4 separate regions of the Homo sapiens genome follow, and all the other regions are linked to region 1. Evidence: promoter capture Hi-C in 16 types of primary human blood cells and fetal thymus (Javierre and others, 2016). All regions are on one chromosome and are shown on one strand. The core of a region is centred on a gene start or on the middle of the fragment in contact, and the rest is flanking DNA. Distances in the headings are between cores, read along the strand shown.

Region 1 (5,076 bases), core at 1,098-3,597:
GCCAATGAATTAATGAGTGAATGAATGAATGAGTGAATGAGTGAATGAATGAGTGAATGAGTGAATGAGTGAGTGAATGAATAAGTGAGTGAATGAGTGAGTGAATGAATGAATGAATGAGTGAATGAATGATTGACTGAGTGAGAGAATGAATGAGTGAGTGAATGAATGAGTGAGTGAGTGAATGAGTGAGTGAGTCAATGAGTGAGTGAGTGAGTCAATGAATGAGTGAGTGGGTCAATGAATGAATGACAATGAATCAGACTTCCCAAGAGTGGGTGCATTTCCACCATGACTGTGTGGGAAGGAGAGAACATATCATCCAGACTTGGTTTTTGTTGCTCAAAACAAATGCAAGCAAACTCTTGGGCCCACCAGAGCAGTGGCCGAAAGCCGCAGACCCTATCCATTGTGTGGGGGATTTCAGTGGGATTCTTGGGCTTTCAGGAGCCTACAAGTGGACTCGCATTTCAACACCTGTGTTCTGTAGGGTTTTCTAGATCTAAGATTCCAGGATTCTATGAAAAGTTATGATAGCCCTGCCCCCTAAAAGATTGTAAGTTTAAACAACAACAAGAAGTCACAAACTGGTGCATCCCAATCCCATGGGTTCCATTTCACAGGTAAAAGGTGTCTGGGTGAATAAACTGCTGTGCCGCTCAAAGGACCCAAAGGAAGGTTCTTTGTGGGTTGGCGTCTGCAAATATCACCAGCTGCCTGGCTAGAGTGACCAGCTAACATACCCATGTGGACCCTGGGCATGAAGGGAGGTACCAGGCCAGGGGCAGTGGCTCATGCCTGTAATCCGAGCACTTTGGGAGGCCACTCTGGGAGGATTGCTTGAGCCCAGGAGTTCAAGACCAGCCTGGGCAACATGGCGAGAACCTGCCTCTACAAATAATTTTTAAAATTAGCTGGACATAATGGCATGCACCTATAGTCCCAGCTACTTGGGAGGCTGAGGAGGGAGGATCACTTGAGCCTGGGTGATTGAGACTGCAGTGAGCCATGATGGCACCACCGCACTCCACCTTGGGTGACAGAGCAAGACCTCACCTCAAAAAAAAAAAAAAAAAGAAAGAAAGAAAGAAAGAAAGAAAGAAAGAAAAGAAAAGAGGCTGGACGCAGTGGCTCATGCCTGTAATCCTAGCACTTTAGGAGGCCGAGGTGGGTGGATTGCCTGAGCTCAGGAGTTCGAGACCAGCTTGGGGAACACAGTGAAACCCCGTCTCTACTAAAAATACAAAAAATTGGCCGTTGTGGTGGTGTGTGCCTATAATCCCAGCTACTCAGGAGGCTGAGACAGGAGAATTGCTTAAACCTGGGAGGCAAAGGTTGCAGTGAGGCAGGATCACGCCATTGCACTCCAGCCTGGGCAACAGAGCGAGACTCCATCTCAAAAAAAGAAAGAAAGAAAAGAAAAGAAACGAAGAAAAGAGGCTGGGCGTAGTGGCTCACACTTGTAATCCCAGCACTTTGGGAGGCCGAGGCAGGCAGATCACCTGAGGTCAGGAGTTCAACACCAGCCTGGCCAACGTGGTGAAACCCCATCTCTACTAAAAATACAAAAAATTAGCTGGGCATGGTGGTGGGCGCCTGTAATCCCAGCTACTCAGGAGGCTGAGGCAGGAGAATTGCTTGAACCTGGGAGGCAGAGGTAGCAGTGAGCCGAGATCACGCCATTGCACTCTAGCCTGGGCAACAGAAGTGAAACTCTGTCTAAAAAAAAAAAGAAAAGGAAAGAAAGAAAGGTGGCCCTGTTAATGTTTATGCCAAGACAGCAGGCATGACCTGGAAGTGTCCGAAGCCACAGGGCATCTTGCTTCCGGGGAGGATGAATGAATCAAATCGCACCTATTTTAAGGCAAGCAAGGACTCCATGACTTCAGGAGCCCTGGTGGGTGGACAGAAGCTCCCTGCTCCCCTGGCCTGTCTACCCAGCAGCGCTTTGGCCAGTCCCATTCCTGTACTTCTGAGCCTGCCTGCCAGTCCCTCCTCACATGCACACCATGGCTTTGTGCCTGGTATTGAGTGTCCCGGAGCCCCAAACCACACGGTCAACCCCATGAAAGAAACAGGGACTCTGCTCTCATCCACTCGCCCCCGCCTCCCGCGTAATCCCCTGGTGCTCACGCAGCCCCACCGTACAGTTTTTCTAGCTCCCTGGCAGACTTGTGCTCCTGTTTGCCAGATCAAAGCCCAGTGACCTGAGTGGCCTGTCCCCAGCAGAGGCCACTAATCCCTGTGGACCCACCCTGTTGGGAAAGGCATGGGTTGAACTTTAACCATTAGGCTCAGGGGTTGGGATGAGTTTCTACAAAAAGAGGTGGGTACACGCCAGTCCACAGTGGTCCTGATCAAAGTGAGAACAGACAGCAGGGAACATCACCCTCTTCAGACTGGAGTCAGTGGGAACAGACCCAAGATGTTGGGGAGGAACACTTGGAAGACCTCAGCTTTCTCCTTCTTGGTTGAGCAGATGTGGGCCCCTCTCTGGAGTCGTTCGATGAGGCCAGGGCGATGGTGTTCTCAGCGTTCCTGTGCATGGCAAACCAGCAATAACACTTGTAAGTAGAGCCTCAAATTTCCTAAGATGCGACTGGATCCTTGTCTTAGCTGATGGGGTCTTTCGAGAGGAGAGAGGAGAGACCGTCCCGAGCCAGATGGGTTCAGATTTCCACTCCGTTTTTTTTTTTTTTTTTTTAAGATGGCGTCTCGCTCTGTGGCCCAGGCTGGAGTACAGTGGCGTGATCTCAGCTCACCACAACCTCCACTTCCCGGGTTCAAGCGATTCTCCTGCCTCAGCTTCCTGAGTAGCTGGGACTATAGGTGCATGCCACCACTCCTGGCTAATTTTTCGTATTTTTAGTAGAGACAGGGTTTCACTGTGTTAGCCAGGTTGGTCTCGAACTCCTAACCTCGCGATCCGCCTGTCTCAGCCTCCCAAAGTGCTGGGATTGCAGGCATCAGCCACGGCGCCCGGCCCTCTTTTTTCTTTTTTTGATGAAGTTTTGCTCTTTTGCCCAGGCTAGAGTGCAATGGCATGATCTCGGCTCACTGCAACCTCTGCCCTCCAGGTTCAAGTGATTCTCCTGCCTCAGCCTCCAAAGTAACTGGGACTACAGGCACCCGCCACTGCACCCAGCTAATTTTTTGTATTTTGGTAGAGATGGGGTTTCACCATGTTGGCCAGGCTGGTCTCGAACTCCTGACCTCAGGTGATCCACCCACCTTGGCCTCCCAAAGTGCTAGGATTACAGGCGTGAGCCACCGCGCCTGGCCACACTCCGTTTCTCTTGTATTTGGTGACCTTGGGTGAATCATTTAGCCTCCGTTTCAGGGGTCCTGGGGAGGGCAAGATGCTGGGAGCAGGCGGGTAGTCCGTGTTCGCACGGGACACACTGGCACGACTCACCATCCAGACCCGGCGGAATGGGCTGCACTAACCAGTCACGATCGCTCCTAAACTCTTCGGCAGAGAACGCTTTCAAGCAAACCTGTAACAAATAAACCACTCAGCCAGCTCTGCCAAGAAACTGCCCCGTGCCAGCCCCTCCTGGCTTCATGGTCAGTGCCTTGTGACCTTGAACGAGGCCCTTCCTCTTTCTGGGTCTCAGGTGCTTCCTCCGTAGAATGAGAGCCTGCTTTGGCAGCTGCCAAGTTCTCTTCTAACTGAAATCTTCCATGCATTCCATGTTTGGGCCATTGAAAGAGCATGGGCTTAGGAGCCAGACCCCAGGCATGCAGTCCGACTGACGCTTGCTGAGGTGGAGCCTCGGCAGGTCTTCACCCCCAAGCCTCTGTGTCCTTATCTCGAGATGGGGGTGGCCAGACTTTCTCTCCAGGGCCATGGAAGGATGACACGATGCGTGTAGAAAGCCTGGCCCACCCCAGACTCTGAGTGAGCTACACTCATTCCTCCTGTTGGGGTCCACACCTGTGGACTGGAGTGCAGTGGTGCGATCTCGGCTCACTGCAGCCTCTGCCTCCTGGGTTCAAGCGATCCTCTTGACTCAGCCTCCCAAGTAGCTGGGACTACAGGCGTGTGCCACCACGCCCAACTAATTTCTGTATTTTTAGTAGAGATAGGATTTCGCCATGTTGGCCAGGCTGGTCTCAAACTCCCGACCTCAGGTGGTCTACCTGCCTCGGCCTCCTAAAGTGCTGGGATTACAGGCGTGAGCCACTGCACCCACCCCCCTTTTTTATTCTTAGTACGACCGTCAAGAGCGCTAGCCTGCCTAGATTGGAATCTTGGCCCCACTGCTCTATGGCTGTTGCCCCTCTGTGACTTTCCTTTATTTTTTGAGACTAATTTCTGTCTTGTTGCCCAGGCTGGAGCGCAGTGGTGCGATCTCCAGCTCACCGCAACCCCCACCTCCCAGGTTCAAGCAATTCTCCTGCCTCAGCCTCCCGAGTAGCTGGAATTACAGGCATGCGCCACCACATCCGGCTAATTTTGTATTTTTAGTAGATACAGGGATTCTCCATGTTGCTCAGGGTGGTCTTGAACTCCCAGCCTCAGGTGATCTGCCCGCCTCAGCCTCCCAAAGTGCTGGGATTGCAGGCGTGAGCCACCACGCCCAGCTGTCCCCTCTGTGACTTTCTTAACTTCCCCCAGCCTTGGTTTTGTCGTCTGTAACAGGGGGTTGATAATGGTGCTTACGGCACAGTGTCGTTGGGAGAAGGGTCCGAGGTGGGGCCTGCAAAGGCTGGGGACAGCACATGGCTCCAGGAAGCCCTTGCTAGACGCCAGCTGCTGCTGTTGCTAACACAGGCAGCGGTGGGTGCCCTGTGTCTATTTAAGCATTTCCCTGTCAGTGGGCAGCAGGTAGCATTCCATTTCTTACTGTGGCAACATGTCCTCTTACATCGTGTGCTAGAGAGAGTCATATTCTGTATCGGCACCTAAATCCATTTACACCATGGTCCTCAACCTGTTCCCAGTGAACAGAGGGCTCTGCCAAATCATTTCAGAGTTCCACAAAGAGCAGAATATTCTGCCAAGCAGAGAAGATTGGAACATCATAAGGAATTCATCCTTCTATGTCGGTGTTTTATTTATGGGCATTCTGA
Region 2 (5,148 bases), core at 904-3,403, 520 kb before region 1:
CAGGGAGGGTCCGCGGCCCTGCCTTCCTCGTCCGGGCCCTTTCTCTGCCCCGGTCCCGGGCCGCAACGAGGATGGGCCGCGGTGGCTCACCGTGCACCCGCCGCGGTCCCAGTTCCCAAAGTGCGCGCGCTCTGCCCGCCCCGCTGGGCTGGGCTACGGGCTCTCGCTGGCGCTGGCGGCCTTATCAGCGCTGGAGATCGGTTTCCAACCTGCGATCTCCCTGTCCGAGCTATCTGCATTTCTCATCACAGTGAAACACCACACACACACACACACACACACACACACACACACACACACCCCAGAACCGAACATAGGCGCTCAGGGAAGGAAGGAAAAAGAAACCAGAGCACAAGCGCGGATCGGGACCTGTGGGTGGCTTTTAATACTTGAGTTGACACGATAGAAGGCGACTTTCGGAAAACAGGTCCCGTTTGCGCTGAGGGAGTTGGGTTACGGGAACCGGTTCATGCCTGTGACCCCCGCCTCGGGAGACCTCCTGAGTAGGGAAGCTCCCACAGGCCCCGCACAAGGGGTCCTGGTGGCAGTGGTCGTGTGGACAAAGGAGGTAGTGCCCGGGCGCCTACGGCTGGGCAGCGGGCGGGTTTCCGTCGTGGCCTCCTGGCAGGGCTCAGACGACCTGCCCGTCAGGCTCCGGGGAGGCGCCCCGGGGAGGAAGACCTGCGTCTGGGCCCTAACTGTGAGGCGCAAAGTTATTATTGGCATAGGGTGGGGAGGGTAGCTTCCTGTGCTCTTGCTCCCTCCTGGCACAGCCCAGAGGCCCAGGCCAGACAGTGGCCCCGACAGCTTAGTTCTCATCGCGGGGGCACTGGCAATGTGGCGGCGGGGCAGCAGCCTCTGACCGGGCAGGGAGCCGGACCAGCGAGAAACTTAGTGGCGTGCAGGGGCGACCCCGGCCCGGGGCTGCGTCCTGGGAGGCCCTTCTCTGACTCAGAGCAGCCCATTGGGATGCCAGGGGGTGCCCGCGGGCATCCGAGGGCACCATTTGTTGCCCATGCCGCCTTGGCTGGGACACTTGCAGGGTCCAGGAGGTGTCACCAGGCTGGCGGGGCCTGGGTTCAGGACTTCAGCGCTAGGGCACGGGGTGGGGGTGTCTGGGGGGCTGGAGCCAAGTGCCTAGGCTGCGGCAGCTGCGCGCTACCCCCTCCCCTGTCCTGCGGCTCTGCGACGGCACCGGTGGGGGTGGGCGCGGGCCGGTGCCTGCCACTTGGCCAGGCATCTCCGCGGCCCCGGGTGTCCCCTCTGCCTCCCAGGTCTCTCTCTTCGCTTCTAGATACAAAGCCTGGGAGAGTCAACCGCGCGAGATAAGATCACAATTTCAGCCCGTCCCGACAGAACGATCTTATCAGGACGGGACTTGCAGAATGTAATATTTTAAACTTTATCTGAGCCCAGATCGGGGCCGCCCTATCGCCGCACCATCTCGCAGATGCGGGGGAGGGGCAGGCCGCGAGGGGCCGAGCTGCCCGGGCCGCGCCCCCAAACACCCTCCTCCCGGCCTCCGGGCGGCCCCCTCCTGGGCTGAACCCCCCGGTGCCCAAGCCGAGACGCGGGGGCCCAGGCCGCCGGCGGAGATTAGATTACGGCGCGCTTGGCACAGCGCGGGGGGCGCGGCGCGGGGTGAAGGTCGCCGGCGCCCAGGGCAGAGCGGGGACGGGCGGGGGCGGCGCTGGCGGCTGGGCTCCGGCGGGGGTCGGGCGCGCGGAGGGGACCGCGGGCAAAGTTTGACTCACGCTTGATCTGCCGGGGGTTGCTCTGTTTCCGCCTGGACATGTCTCCGGCGCCGCGCGCCCTCCCGGCGGCCGCCTCTAGCCCCGGGCGGGCGGCGGCGGGCGGCGGGGGCGCGGCGGGGCCGCGGGGCCGCTCATGCCCCCGGCCCCCGGTCTCCGCGGCCGCCCCGGCCCGCGCCCCCAGCCCGCGCGCCCAGCCCCGGAGCCGCTGGAGCTGCCGCGGAGGCCCGAGAGGCCACGGTCCTGCGTTGCGGGCGCGCGGACTGCCCGACGGGCGGGTGCCGGCTCCTCCGCTCCCGCGCACTCGCCGCCGCCGCCGCGGCCGCTCGGCTTTTCTCAATGGAACCCGCGGGCGGCGAGCGGCGGAGCAGGCGGCCACTGCGAGGGCGCTCCTGGCGGGCTGGAGGCACGGGGCGGGGCCGGGCCTGAGCGTCGTCGGCCGCCGCACCTCCCGCCCCGCCCCCGGCGCTCCGGCCCCGCCCCGTGCCTCCTGCCGGGCCCTGCACCTCTCCGGCTCCGCCCCCAGCGCCGCGGCCACGCCCCCGCCAGCCCGGCTCTTCGTTGCTCTGGCTCCGCCCCCAGAGCCGCGACCGCGCCCCCGCCCGCCTCGCTCTTTACGGCGCTGGCTCCGACCCCAGCGCTGCGGCCCCGCCCCTGTCCGTCTGGGCCTTCAAGGCACTGTCCCCGCCCCGCTCGATGCCCCGCCCCTTCCTGGTTCGGCCCCGCCCGCGCCCCGGGGAGACCTCTAGCCTCCCCCACTCCTCTTTGGCCCGGAGGTCATGTCCCCAGGCCGCGCTGGGAGTCTGAGACCTATTCGGTTCTGTTCTGCTGCCCCGCGGCACCGCATCCTGCGCCCCGCCTCTCGGCGCCAGCTCCGCCTCCAAACCTGACCCGACCTGGTTGGGTCCTGAGACGCCGAGGCTCCGCCCCCGCACTGTAACTCCGCCCCCAGCCCTTGGTCCCTCCCTAGACCCCTGGGCTCTGCCGCACGCTCCACGTGCGCGGTGGGGGCAGTGACAACCGGCTCAGGAAGCCCGAGGCCTTGACGCCCACGTTTCTCTTGGGCCAGACTTGGGGTGTGGAGCGGATTCGGGCCAGGGAGGGGGCTTCCGTCCCAGACTGCGGTGGGGTCCGCCAACTGAGAGCAGGATCTCGGGTCTTCCCCTGTGAGCTCAGACCAGGCTGGAAATCGAGGAGGGGGCGCGGGAGCCGGCAGCCCTGGGCGTTGCCACTTGGGGCCTCTTTCCTCACCGAGCCTCTCCAGGGCGCCCCGCAGGAGACCCACGAAGGAGTTGCCCACAGCGCCCGGGCCACAGCCCCCTCTCGGAGCAGTCAGAGGTCAGCGAGGTTTGTGGGCGCGGTGCTGTCAGCTCAGGCCTGGAAATGGAGAACTGTTGCCCTCTGGGGTGTGTTCAAGAGCCCCACTTCACGGAGGCTCGGGGACTTGCTCAAGGTCACGCATTGGGGGGCTGTCCCCCACTCCCAGCTGAGTTGTATCATCTCCTTTTAATGTTCTCGGTCTACACTTGCTACCTGCTCCCCCATCCCCCGTACTCATAAGAAACGGGCGTCAGTGGGCCCAGGGGCAGACAGGAAGGACCCCTCCCACCTGATGATGAGATCATCGCACAGCAGGACTGTCACACCACCCGCCAGCCTGCTGGGAGCTCCTAAGACCCCATCTCGTGCCAACTTCTGTGACCTATTCCCTGGCTCCAAGGAAGGGGAGAAGTGGGGGCTTACCCTCAGAGCCTGGTACAGGAGAGTGGCGGGTGGGTAGGAGAGGCAGGGGTACAACACTGGATATGCGCCGTCCCTCCCCACTGCCATGGACAGACAGGAACACTGAGACCAGGAGGCCAAGAGAGCTGCCCAGGGGCATACGGGTCCTCCAGCCCTTCCTGCTCTCTGCCAGGGTCCAGTGGGCACAGCCTTCCCACAGCTGCTCTCTGGAGGGGGTGGGGCCCATGTCTGATTGGTTCACTCAACCTAGGACCTCCCCCCCACCCTCCCGCCCCCACCCAGTGCTTGTCAACTGGATGGAGCACCTACCTGTCTGGGTTTCCCACCAGGCCTCGCCTCCTTCCCCAAAGAAGTCCACTTTAGAGTATGTGGACCTGTGAGTTAGGGGAGTTCCTGGAGGAGGTGGCCATGGGCTGGCACCTGGGCTGGGTCTGAAGCTCCACGCACAGCAAGTGGCACCCAGGCTGGCGCTGCTGGAACGGGCGGAGATCTGTGTTGAGGTGGATTCCGAGGGTCAACAGGAGACAGCCATGATCATCCATGATTGATGTCTGTCTAGGCTGCAGGAGGAGACGATGGGGATCATTTTGGCTGCTGCTTTGCCTGATCTGATTTATTTCTATGAGCCCATATATAGATGAAAACATGGAGGGACATGCCCAGGGAAGCCAGCGAAGGGGGCAGGCGGCAGGTCCAGACCACAGCCTGCTGCCCTGCCTCCATCACTTGCAAGGCCCCATGCAAAATGAAAATATGAAAATGTGGAGCCCCCTTGATCAAAACCCCCAAACCCCAAAACCCCAGGGCATCAAGGGCAGGATGTTGAGCCCGGTGTGGTGCCCTTCCCAGCTCGGGCCCTGTGCCCCTGCACCGGTCACAGGTCCCCTAACCCTGCCAGGGCTGCTTTTGTAGCACATTCCTTCTACACTCTGTCCCTCTACCTGCCCGGAGGAAGGCATTATTACAGATGAGAAAACCGCAGCCAAGAGGGGAGGCTGCCTGCTGATGTCGAGTGGTAAAGCTGCAGGACCTTGCACACACCATTAAACCCTCAGGGTGGTCATGACGATAACCATACACTGAGGAAGAGACACAAGGCATGCTGTCTAGAGGATGGTCTGGGGGAGCCCAGAGCAGGAGCGGCCATCTCTGCCTGGGGAAATCAGAGAAGGCTTTCTGGAGAAGGTGACATCCAAGTGGGGCTTTCCAGGAGTCCCTGATCAGGTGGGAGAGGAACAGGGCGTGGGGTTGCTGAGGCTGTCCAGGCTGAGCCCACCTAGGACCTCCACCCCCCACCTGCTGCCCATTGTGAACCCCAGTTTCCATCTGCCCCTGCATGTTCTCGAGGTGTGTTGAGATTCACATCCAAAGTCACTGGTGGGGAAGTTGGAATTGCATTCAGGAGCTGCACTGGGTTCTCCCCTGCTGGCTCCCAGGGAGAGCAGGGCCTGGAACACATAGGAAGTGCTGTCTGGCAGTGGCCTGGAGACTGCCTCCCCTCCAAAAACAACCTCAGCCCAAAGAAGACATTTTTGGGGTTTGAGAAGTGGGGGTGTGCAGGGGTGGGCTGGGCCAGTGGACATGGAATTCCAGCCTTCTATTAGGAGTAGAGGGGTGTGATGGGGCAAATGCCTTACTATGCTTCTACTCTGCC
Region 3 (4,747 bases), core at 418-2,917, 540 kb after region 1:
TCGCAGAGACTTTTCCAGAATAACCCAAAAGTACTAAGCAAAAAAGAAAATAACTATAGTTTCTGTTATGAGAAAAAGGGCATCTCTCCTACATAAATGTTCCCAGTTAACTTTTCATTGGTGAAAACAGAAGCCAGGTCTGAGGGGGGCCGCTGGATCGCTTTAGCCCGGGAGGTCGAGGCTGCAGTGGGCTGTGATTGCACCACTGCACTCCAGCCCAGGTGACAGAGTGAGACCCTGTCTCAAAATAAAAAAGAAAAGAAAATCTGTCTTTAATGCTGCTCTCAGGGCTCAATAAGCCTAGACACTACAGTAAAGAGTTCATTAAGGTGACTAACAAGAAAACTACTAACAAAAAAGGCACGTGTAAGTCTTGCTAACCAACGGACTGCCTCAAGAGGCTGTCTGAAAAGATATGCTTGGCAAGCTAAGGTCCATTTTAATTTGCTTAAGTTTCTCAGGCATAAGAAAAAAAATAATGGTCAATGAGACCTGCAAAACTATATCCAAACTCAAATGAATGCTAAACTCTTTCTAGACTCCGGGAAACTAGGCAAAAGCAGACAAACAGCACCACTGTGTGGGCTCCTGACGAGGATGGCGGCAGGCATTCGCAGTCCACCGCGATGAACACGGTGCTTCCCTTCCAAACCGGTGTCTGGAACTTAGGCAACAACAGATACCTGGATCTGCGGCGTTCTCTTGCTCAAGCGGGAAATAATCACTTCGCATCATCTGCGTGGAGTAAATATTGTGATGGTGACACCTGCACGTTTAACCAAATGCCAGCACACCTAAGCTGGGTTTCCAGTCTGAACCGGCAGAAAAGGGATGTATTCGGTATTCCTGGTGCCAAGGTGAGAACGTAATCGCAAACCCAAGAGAAGTCTCCCACCCCAGCTCCTGGGCTACAGACAGGAACTGGCAACACCGCTGTGGGCCGTCCCGGGCGCGGCGAGGCCGGGGCCCAGCACATTCCCCTCCTCTCGACCGAGGCACTGAGGTCTGTAAGAGGCACTCGCACCCGGGCGGGCTCCCTCGACGGGAAAACCAGCCCTGAAGGTGACGCGCTGGGTCCCGGCGCAGCCCCGCTTCAGAGCCGAACGGCCCAGCGCGGCCCCGGGGGCTGTTGGGCCCCAGAAGCGCGACCCTCGCCCGCAGCGCGCTTGCGGGGGCGGCGGTGGCCGGGGTACGGCAGGCACCCCGCCGCGGAGGGCGCGGGGTGATTCAGCAGGCCCGGGGCCCCGAGCGCACCGGCCCCCGCCCGCCCTCCGCCGGCTGCCTCCTCCCAGGCCTCCGAGAGGTCCGCAGGCCGCCCCGGCCCAGACCAGCCCCTGGCCCTCCCGGCTCGGTCCCGGCCTGGGTCCCTCACGGGGCCCCGGGCCCCGCATCCCTCGGCCCCGCCGGCCGGCAGCCACCGGCCCCGCTCGGCCTCCCGGCTCGGCCCCGACCCCTCACGGCGTCCCAGGCCCTGCCGCCCTCCACAGCTCGGACCCCGGCCCCGCCGCACCCGCCGCCCTCGCGGCGACACTCACCGAAGGTGCGGCGCTGCTTGAAGGTCTTCTCCGACGGCATGGTGCAGGGATCTGGGCGGCGGCGGCGGCGACGACGCGAGGGTCCCGGCGGCTCCCGGGGGCGGCGGCTGCTGCGGCGGCGAATCCGACTCTGGCGATAGCCACTTCCCTTGTATCTCCTCAGCCCGCAGCCTGGTCAGGTGACTCGCGACGCGTCACCGAGGGGCGGGGCCAGAGCCGGCCGGGGCCGCCGCCATGACGGGCGTGGCGGAACCCAGCAGCGGCACGCAGCGTGGGGGCGGAGCAGGTGTGTGCGCGTGCGCGATGGGCGAAACGCGCGCTCTGCGCATGCTCCCGGTCGTGCCCCAGCCCCGCCCAGCACCGCTGGGCGCCTGAGGCCCCTGAGGTGACGGTTGTGGGCTGGGCCGCACCCCGGGTCTGTGGGCGCTCGGGAGCCTGCTGCCCGGCCCTGAGGAGATGGCAGCGCGGGGCGGGGGAGGCTGAGCCACAGGCGGGGTGTCCCGGGGCACTCTTGAGGGAGGGGTCAGAGGAAGGGACATGGGGCAAATCCGACCATCCTTTCCCCTCCAGAGAGACTTGGTGGTGCTGCCCGAGACGCCGGCACCCGGGGCTGAGGCGCGCAGGGCAGGCCGCGCCGTCTCCGGGAGGCAGGGTCGCCGCTCGCCCGTGGAGCCCTGGCCCCCTCTGCGTGCAGGGGCGCGCGTGGTCCGTGGGTGGCTTCCGGGGAGTGGCCGCTGGTGACCTCCGCCCGCGGTCACTCGACGCCCAGCCTTGGCGCGTTTGCGCAACTGCTTTTGTCCCGAGCCTTCATTCTGGGCGCAGTCCCCTCTCCCAGTCCCCCTGCCGCGGCGCCTGGAACTCTCCTGGTGGCTGTAAGATTTTCCTACCGTTAGGTCGTCTGTGGCGACTGCCAGGCCTGCCCCACATCGCTAGCCGCCCTGTCTACCCCTCAGCCTCCCAGCCACTAAACTCGCTGGACAACCTTACGCTAGTGACAGTTTTTGAGTCTCAGACTCATCTGTGAAAGGGCAGTCATATTTGAGGACTCCAAATGGGCTGCAGTGCGTAAACCACCATGCGATATTTGGTTGCTATTGCCCACCTCAGCCTGTGGCCAATGTGTCTCTGTAGGAACAGCACTAGATTCTTTGGGGTTTTTTTGAGACAGGGTCTTGCTCTGTTGCCCAGCCTGGAATGCAGTGGCACGATCATAGCTCGCGGCGGCCTCGGTCGCCTGGGCTCAAGGGATCCTCCTGCCTCAGCCTCCCGAGAAGCTGGGAGTAGAGCCGGGATCTCGCTGTGTTGCCCGGGCTGGTCTTGAACTCCTGGCCTCAAGCAACCCTCCCGCCTCGGCCTCCTTAAGAGTTGGGATTACAGGCGTGAGCCACTGCTCCCGGCTATTTGGCTGTTTTTGTTCTTTAACATCTAATACTTTGAAAGAGCCCCATAGTTCCAGGATTTCTCCTTTTGACTTTGTAAAAGCCTTTCTTCTATCCCAATTGGATAAAGTAATTGGATTAGGCTAATACACTCTACACTGTAAGCTTGAATCATACAAAACATGAAAATAGCGGGGGGCGGTGGCTCCAAGCCTGTAAACCCAGCTCTCAGGGAGGCAGAGGCTGGGAGGATCGCTTGAGCCCAGGAGTTTGAGACCTGACTGGGCAACATAGCAAGACCCCGTCCTCCACAAAAAAGAAGAAAAAAAGTATGAAAATATATTTCTCGCGCCAGGTGCGGCGACTCATGCCTGTAATTCCAGCACTTTGGGAGGTCAAGGCAGGAGGATCACGAGGTCAAGAGTTCGAGACCAGCCTGGTCAACATGGCGAAACCCCCATCTCTACTAAAAATACAAAAATTAGCCGGGTGTGGTGGCAGGCGCCTGTAATCCCAGCTACTCGGGAGGCTGAGGCAGGAGAATCGCTTGAAACCGGAAGGCAGAGGTTGCAGCGAGCCAAGATCCTGCCACTGCACTCCAGCCTGGGGGAAAGAGCGAAACTCCATCTCAAAAAAAAAAAGAAAGAAAATATATTTCTCAAAGTGCTTTTATACAGTTGGGATTTCTTCTAGAGAAGCCAACTACTGTCATAGATCCTTGTATAATTAATTTACTCCCACCATCAGAAGAATGACGTTAGTTGTAGTTCTTTATTACACCACTGTTTATTTTATTTATTTGTTTTTTGAGACAGAGCCTTGCACTGTTGCCCAGGCTGGAGTGCAGTGGCGTGATCTCAGCTCACTGCAACCTCCACCTCCCGGGTTCAGGTGATTCTCCTGCCTCAGCCTCCCCAGTAGCTGGGAATACAGGTGCCTGCCACCACGCCCAGCTAATTTTTGTATTTGTAGTAGAGAGAGGGTGTCACCATGTTGGCCAGGCTGGTCTTGAACTCCCGACCTCAGGTGATCCACACGCCTTGGCCTCCCAAAGTGCTGGGATTACAGGCACGAGCCACCGCGCCCAGCCAATTGTACCACTTTTTGTGAAATAACGGTGCATTTGTGCAGGTGGCACTTTCTGTCCCTGATTTTTTTGTCATAGTTCTTTACCTCAGACATCTCTGATAGTCATACAATTAATAAAGAAGAGTACTTAAACATTCTCTCTGGTTTCCAGATTCCGAAATTTTTAACCTCTGAAGCTGTGCCTTCACATGATCTAGGACAGCGTTCAGAAGATGGCTACAGTCTGTTGGTTTGTATTCTGTGAAAATAGAAAAAAAAATCCGGTAAGCGCATATTATGTACCTACCTTCTGCCAAACAACAAAGTATCAGTTTTGAAGTCTTAAAGAGTGGAGTCTGTGTTGCTTTCTTTTCTGGATTTTTATGATATTAAGTATTGACTGGTGAGTGCGTTCTTGGCTGAGTTGCTGCTTTGTAAGAAATGGGCTTTTTCTTTCTCTTGCTGGACAACTGTTCCAAATGCAAGAAGAAGGGAAAAAATCGATATCTGGCATATGGAGATGGGGGAGGGGAAGCAGAGTCTCATATTTTCCCACCCTTGGGCATCCATAAAGCTTTACCAAATTACTCCAGGCCTTGGGTTCATTGCCAGAGGAAGTAGCATCGACAGTTGTGTAGTAATGGGCCAGGGTTACTCTGCGTGTTTTTGAAATATAGGACTGAAGTCCACATTTGCAAAGCTGACACTTCTACGCCTAACTTCTAATTCCAACTTGAATCTAAAGCCACATATCCTTCCATGGCT
Region 4 (4,644 bases), core at 1,849-4,348, 600 kb before region 1:
GGGCTGAAGTGATTCTTCTGCCTCAGCCTCCTGAGTAGCTGGGATTACAAGCATGTGCCATCACGCCTGGCTAATTTTTTGTATTTTTGGTAGAGACAGGGGTTTATCCATGTTGGTCAGGCTGGTCTCGAACTCCCGACCTCAGGTGATCTACTCGGCTTGGCTTCCCAAGGTGCTGGGATTATAGCCGTGAGCCACCATGCCAGGCCTAGCACATCTTCAAAGAATGAGAAAAGTGAACTGTCAAGCTGGATGGAGTGTCCAGCCAACTTCTCGTTCAAGAATTATGGCACAATAAAAGCTTTTCAGAGAAAACAGTAGCATAGTTTTGCCCAGTCAGGCCCTCATTAATGAACATTTACAGGATGCTATTAAGGAAGAAAGAACGCAACGCCAGGAGGTTGTGCTGGGATGGCTTGTGACCCAGCAATCTCCACCATCCATGGCCAGGCGGCATTTGAGGGGGCTGCACCTGCCCGCCAGGTGCACTGGAGCTGCCTATCCACCTGCTGCTGGCACCTGGTGCTTCCCATTCCCGCACCGCCCATCTGATTGGTGCCAGCCGCATCTCTTCATTTATAATTCGCCCTCCCTGACAATGTCTTCCCACCAGGCTCCTCCCTGTCTCCGGCCTTCCTGTGGGATGTGCAGACACTGGATCCCAAGCCAGGACTCGAAACTTCAAGCCCAGGCTCTGGAGACTTCCTTGCCACCTCCATGTTTGATTGTGGAAGGAAGGAGGGGCCAGCTCTCTGGCCCTTCCCAGCAGATGGCAGGAGGGACAAACTTGCTGGCTCTGTGCCCCTTCGGAGGCCCCAGTTGGCAGGGTCTAACGAGGAGTGCAGCCAGCTGGTTAATGGGGAGAACCTCGGGGGAGGTGACAGCAGCCACAGTGACAGTTGCCCAACAATCAATGTGCCCAGGCCAGGCAGGCTGGTGGGGGAGATGCATTGCAGGGGACATGAGAGCACAGCCCATAAGGACGGCCCCCAGCCTCTTGAGAGGCCCAAGCCTGCTTTCCATAGCCAGAGACCCTATTAGAGCCAAGGGCGGGCCACCCACATGCAGCCTCTGAGCTGTTCTGAGGTAGGAAACCAGCAGGACATTTCTGGTCACAACCTTGCTGACCAAAACGTGATCTGGTCCAGAAAGGATAAAGTAAGGAAAGCAGCAGGAACCAGCAGATGGCGAGGAAGGCGATCCCTAGCTGCCTCATTGTTCTCTGGCATAACACAGTCCCACCAGCCCCATGACAGTTTACAAACACCATGGCAACAGCCTGGACGTAACCTGCTTTACGTGGCAATGCTGGGGAAGTTATTGCCCCTTGCCTAGAAAGTCCTAAGTAACAGCCGGGCGCGGTGGCTCGTGCCTGTAATCCCAGCACTGTGGGAGGCTGAGGCAGGTGATCACCTGAGGTCAGGAATTCGAGACCAGCCTGACCAATATGGTGAAAACCTGTCTCTACTTAACATACAAAAATTAGCCGGGCGTGGTGGCAGGCTTCTGTAATCCCAGCTACTTGGGAGGCTGAGGCAGGAGAATCACTTGAACCCGGGAGATGGAGGTTGCAGTGAGCCAAGATCATGCCACTGCACTCCAGCCTGGGAGACAGAGGAAGACTCTGTCTCAAAACAAAACAAACAAAAAGAAAGTCCTAAGTAACCTGCTCCTCAATTTGCATTAACCCACCCTTTAATTTGCATGTAATTGAAGAGGGGTTTAAGTGGTTATAAATACAGTTGCCAAGAGCACTGTGGACTCTGGATGCACTGCCAGGGAGTTAGCCTTGCTCTGCAAGGAGTAAAATTGTTCAATAACAGACTGCTGCCGTCTAACACCCTGGCCTGCCCTTGAATTCTTTCCTGGCTAAGCCTCAATTGCGTGGCCCACCTGTCCTGCATCGGGAAGAGAATCAAGGCCACGTGCTGCCGGCTCACGGCAATAGCCGGGCGTGTGGGCCTTGGGTCTCTGCCTCAGGCTGGTGGCATACGCCCATGAGAGCATATGAGACCTTCTTTGAGCCATCAGCGGCCTCCTGGGGGGATCTGGGCTGTGCAGGAGGGGCCCAGAATTTCAGACTGGAGTTAGGGTGTGTGCCAGGCCTGCTCCAGCTTCTCCCGGCTGCTTGGGGTTTGGGGTTCAACACGGAGGACTCGGATTAGCCAGGACACCAAGGTCCTCTTCACCCTTCCCTGCCCCTTTCCGCCCCCCACCTGCACACGCCACACTCTCCTAGGCATTCCTTCAGCCTCAGCCCATGCCCTGCGTTCGAGGGTGGGGCTACTGCCCTCGCCACCCTGTTCACCAGGAGTGTCAGAGAAGGGGAGGGCCAAGTGTGCACTCCGCGCAGGGCAGGACACGGCCCTTGGGCAGAGATCTGGGTCCAGCTCTCTCCCTGCCCCGCCCCTGCCTCAGCTGACGAAGGCCTGGTGAGCAGGGCTGTGTGTGCTCCTGCTGGTGAGCTAGTGAGGTCGGCGCCCACGGTCTGGGCACCTGCTGTGAGTGCAGGTCTCACACGTGCCAGAGAGCAAACTGCTGGGAGCTGGTTAAATGCAGATTCCCAGGCCCTGGCCGGCAGGGAGGGAAGCAGCCAGACAGAAGCTGCTGCAGGTCTGTGGGCAGTGCTGGGGAGGCCTGGGGCTCTGAGGGGACAGAGGGGCTCTGAGGGTGCCAGATGGGGAGGCCGTGCTGGTGCGAGGGCCGCCGTGTGCAAGGCAGGGCTCAGGCTGTGTATTTCCCTTGCATCTTGGTGGTCACTCCTGTGACCCTGGGCAAGTCACCGTGCCTGGGAGCCCCCTGCTCCCTGCCCAAGGACAGCATCAGAGGATGTGCCTCCAGGGTCGTGTTGGAAGCAGCCTGGAACAGCCCTGTGAGGTTGGGATTCTGCCGGGTTCGCCACTCTCGCCAGGTCCAGGCCACCTGGCTGTCTGGTGGCCAAGCTCCTCCCGGGTGGCCAGTCACCTCCCCTGCTCCTTCCCTCGCTGTGGAAATGGATGCGCTTCCGAAAAGCTGCGAGACCTCCTGCTCTGCGCCTCCCTCCTCCATGCGTCCCGCCCTAACCCTAACCTCTGCCCGGAGCTCCCGACCCTCCCTGCCCCTGCCTGGCTCACCTCTGAGACACTCCCAGCCCGAGGTCCCGAGGCGAGTTCTGTCCACAGCTGCATGGTTTGCTCTTCTCTTCACCTCTCCCTGGCACCTCCAAGGAGGAGGGGGTTGGGTGTTGAGGGGGTGAGGCTGCCTCCTCCCAATCTTCCTCCCTCCCCCTCTGCAAGGCCCCGGCAGATACAGGGCAGGCCAGAGTGCAACGGCTTTGCTGCCTCCTGGCGTCCTGAGGCTCTGCCTGAGACTCCAAAGCTGGGCTCTCCCGAGGGGTCGGCTTGCGGGGGACAGGTGGGGACCGGTTTTCAGAGCAGACCCATCCGACGGTTGCCAGCTCACGCAGCCCCCCAGCCACAGGTGATGTCCTGCTCTGCATGTTGGTGTCCTGGTGTGGGAGACAGGGCCGGCAGTGGGGGCCCTCTCCACTCCCACCCTTCCTCAGGCAGGCTGGGGTGGGCTTCTGCTAGGCCTGAGCTTTCTGTAAGCCAGGGCGTGGCTGGGAGCCAGTGCCCAGCAGTACGGCTGGTGGTCGAGAACCGAGTGCTGGAAGCCAGCAGAGGGATGTGTCCTGGCCCAGCTGTGCCCGCCAGGTGCCTGGGCAGGAGGTGTGTCCCGATGGAACCTTGGGGCCCTCGTGCACAGTCAGGGCACTCAGCCCATGGTGTGGCTGAGAGGACAGACCCTGTGCCTGGCAGAGGAAGGGGCCTCAGGAGGGCGAGGCTGCCCTGCATCATCTCGTGGACGTTGTGTCCCAAGTAGCGTGAGGGACTCCCGGCAGGCTGGGCTGACCCTGCCTGGGAGTTGCCAGCCTGCAAGGGGCTTTGAGCTGTATGCAGCTCAGGTAGAAGGGAGCAGGTGCCCTCCTGGAAGAAGGAGGGTGGAGGCGGGAGGCCCATCCTGTGCAGGGCAGGGGACGGGTACAGCCTGGCTGGGTGGCCCTGAGGGGGACCTTTTAAGCCAGTCTTGAGGAGAGAAGGAGTTTCACAGGCAAAGCTGGGGGGAGTGGGGAGGGGGGAGGAGTGGGGAGAGAGCAGCTTGGAATGCAGCGGTCCGAGATCCAAGAAGCTCAGGTCACACATGGGACTCAGTGGACAGTGTGATTGGAGAGTGGGCTGTGACGGTGGCCGTGTGCCATGAGTGGACAGTGTGGCTGGAAAGTGGGCTGTGACAGTTGGACTGACTGCTGGGCATGGGGAGGGGCTGGCTGTGGTCCACACACACCCCTGTGACTTCAACAGATGCAGACCCCTCCTCTGTGTCGGCCACTTGTGGGTGCCTGGGAGGCAGAGGTCAAGCAGGCGCAGCCCCAGCTTTCAAAGGAGACAGGCCAGTAGGCGACGGGCAAGAGGACAGAGATGCAGAGTGACCGTTCCTACGTGGGAGTGAGCTGGGGACAGAGGTGCAGAGTGACCATTCCTACACGGGAGCGAGCTGGGGACAGAGGTGCAGAGTGACCGTTCCTACGCGGGAAGTGAGCCAGGGACAGGTCTGAGGGGGCACCTAAGCTGAGAGCTGGATGACAAGGACAGCCTCGGAGGAGTA

The links. Contacts are between HindIII fragments. The CHiCAGO score rates a contact against its expected background, and 5 or more counts as called.
Region 2: the fragment with the promoter of ZFPM1 here is called in contact with the fragment with the promoter of CA5A in region 1 in 2 of 17 cell types (naive B cells and total B cells); the score reaches 7.1 in naive B cells.
Region 3: the fragment with the promoter of MAP1LC3B here is called in contact with the fragment with the promoter of CA5A in region 1 in 2 of 17 cell types (fetal thymus and naive CD4 T cells); the score reaches 8.2 in fetal thymus.
Region 4: a contact is called between a fragment that was not itself captured here and the fragment with the promoter of CA5A in region 1, in 2 of 17 cell types (total B cells and erythroblasts). The highest score is 6.1, in total B cells.

The regions. Positions count from the first base shown.
Region 1 is chr16:87,933,800-87,938,875 of GRCh38, reverse strand. CA5A (carbonic anhydrase 5A) reads left to right here and starts at 2,347. Exons shown (of 7, transcript NM_001739.2): 1 at 2,347-2,567. The coding sequence starts at 2,426. The HindIII fragment of the contact is 28,449 bases long and covers 1-5,076 here.
Region 2 is chr16:88,450,285-88,455,432 of GRCh38, reverse strand. It overlaps ZFPM1 (zinc finger protein, FOG family member 1), which reads right to left and starts at 2,153. Exons shown (of 10, transcript NM_153813.3): 1 at 1,755-2,153. The coding sequence starts at 1,794. RefSeq lists silencers at 1-208, 1,149-1,218, 1,439-1,568, 2,029-2,118, 2,129-2,428. The HindIII fragment of the contact is 8,831 bases long and covers 1-5,148 here.
Region 3 is chr16:87,389,256-87,394,002 of GRCh38, reverse strand. MAP1LC3B (microtubule associated protein 1 light chain 3 beta) reads right to left here and starts at 1,667. Exons shown (of 4, transcript NM_022818.5): 1 at 1,536-1,667. The coding sequence starts at 1,575. LOC124903747 (a long non-coding RNA gene) reads right to left here. Exons shown (of 2, transcript XR_007065168.1): 2 at 3,682-4,241. It also overlaps a transcript of FBXO31 not described here. RefSeq lists enhancers at 485-534, 1,751-2,709 and silencers at 1,155-1,284, 1,395-1,564, 1,585-2,234. The HindIII fragment of the contact is 5,617 bases long and covers 1-3,081 here.
Region 4 is chr16:88,538,605-88,543,248 of GRCh38, reverse strand. No RefSeq gene overlaps it. Among named protein-coding and RNA genes, the nearest start is that of ZFPM1-AS1, 9.9 kb to the right of the region's middle. RefSeq lists an enhancer at 2,953-3,555. The HindIII fragment of the contact is 5,589 bases long and covers 304-4,644 here.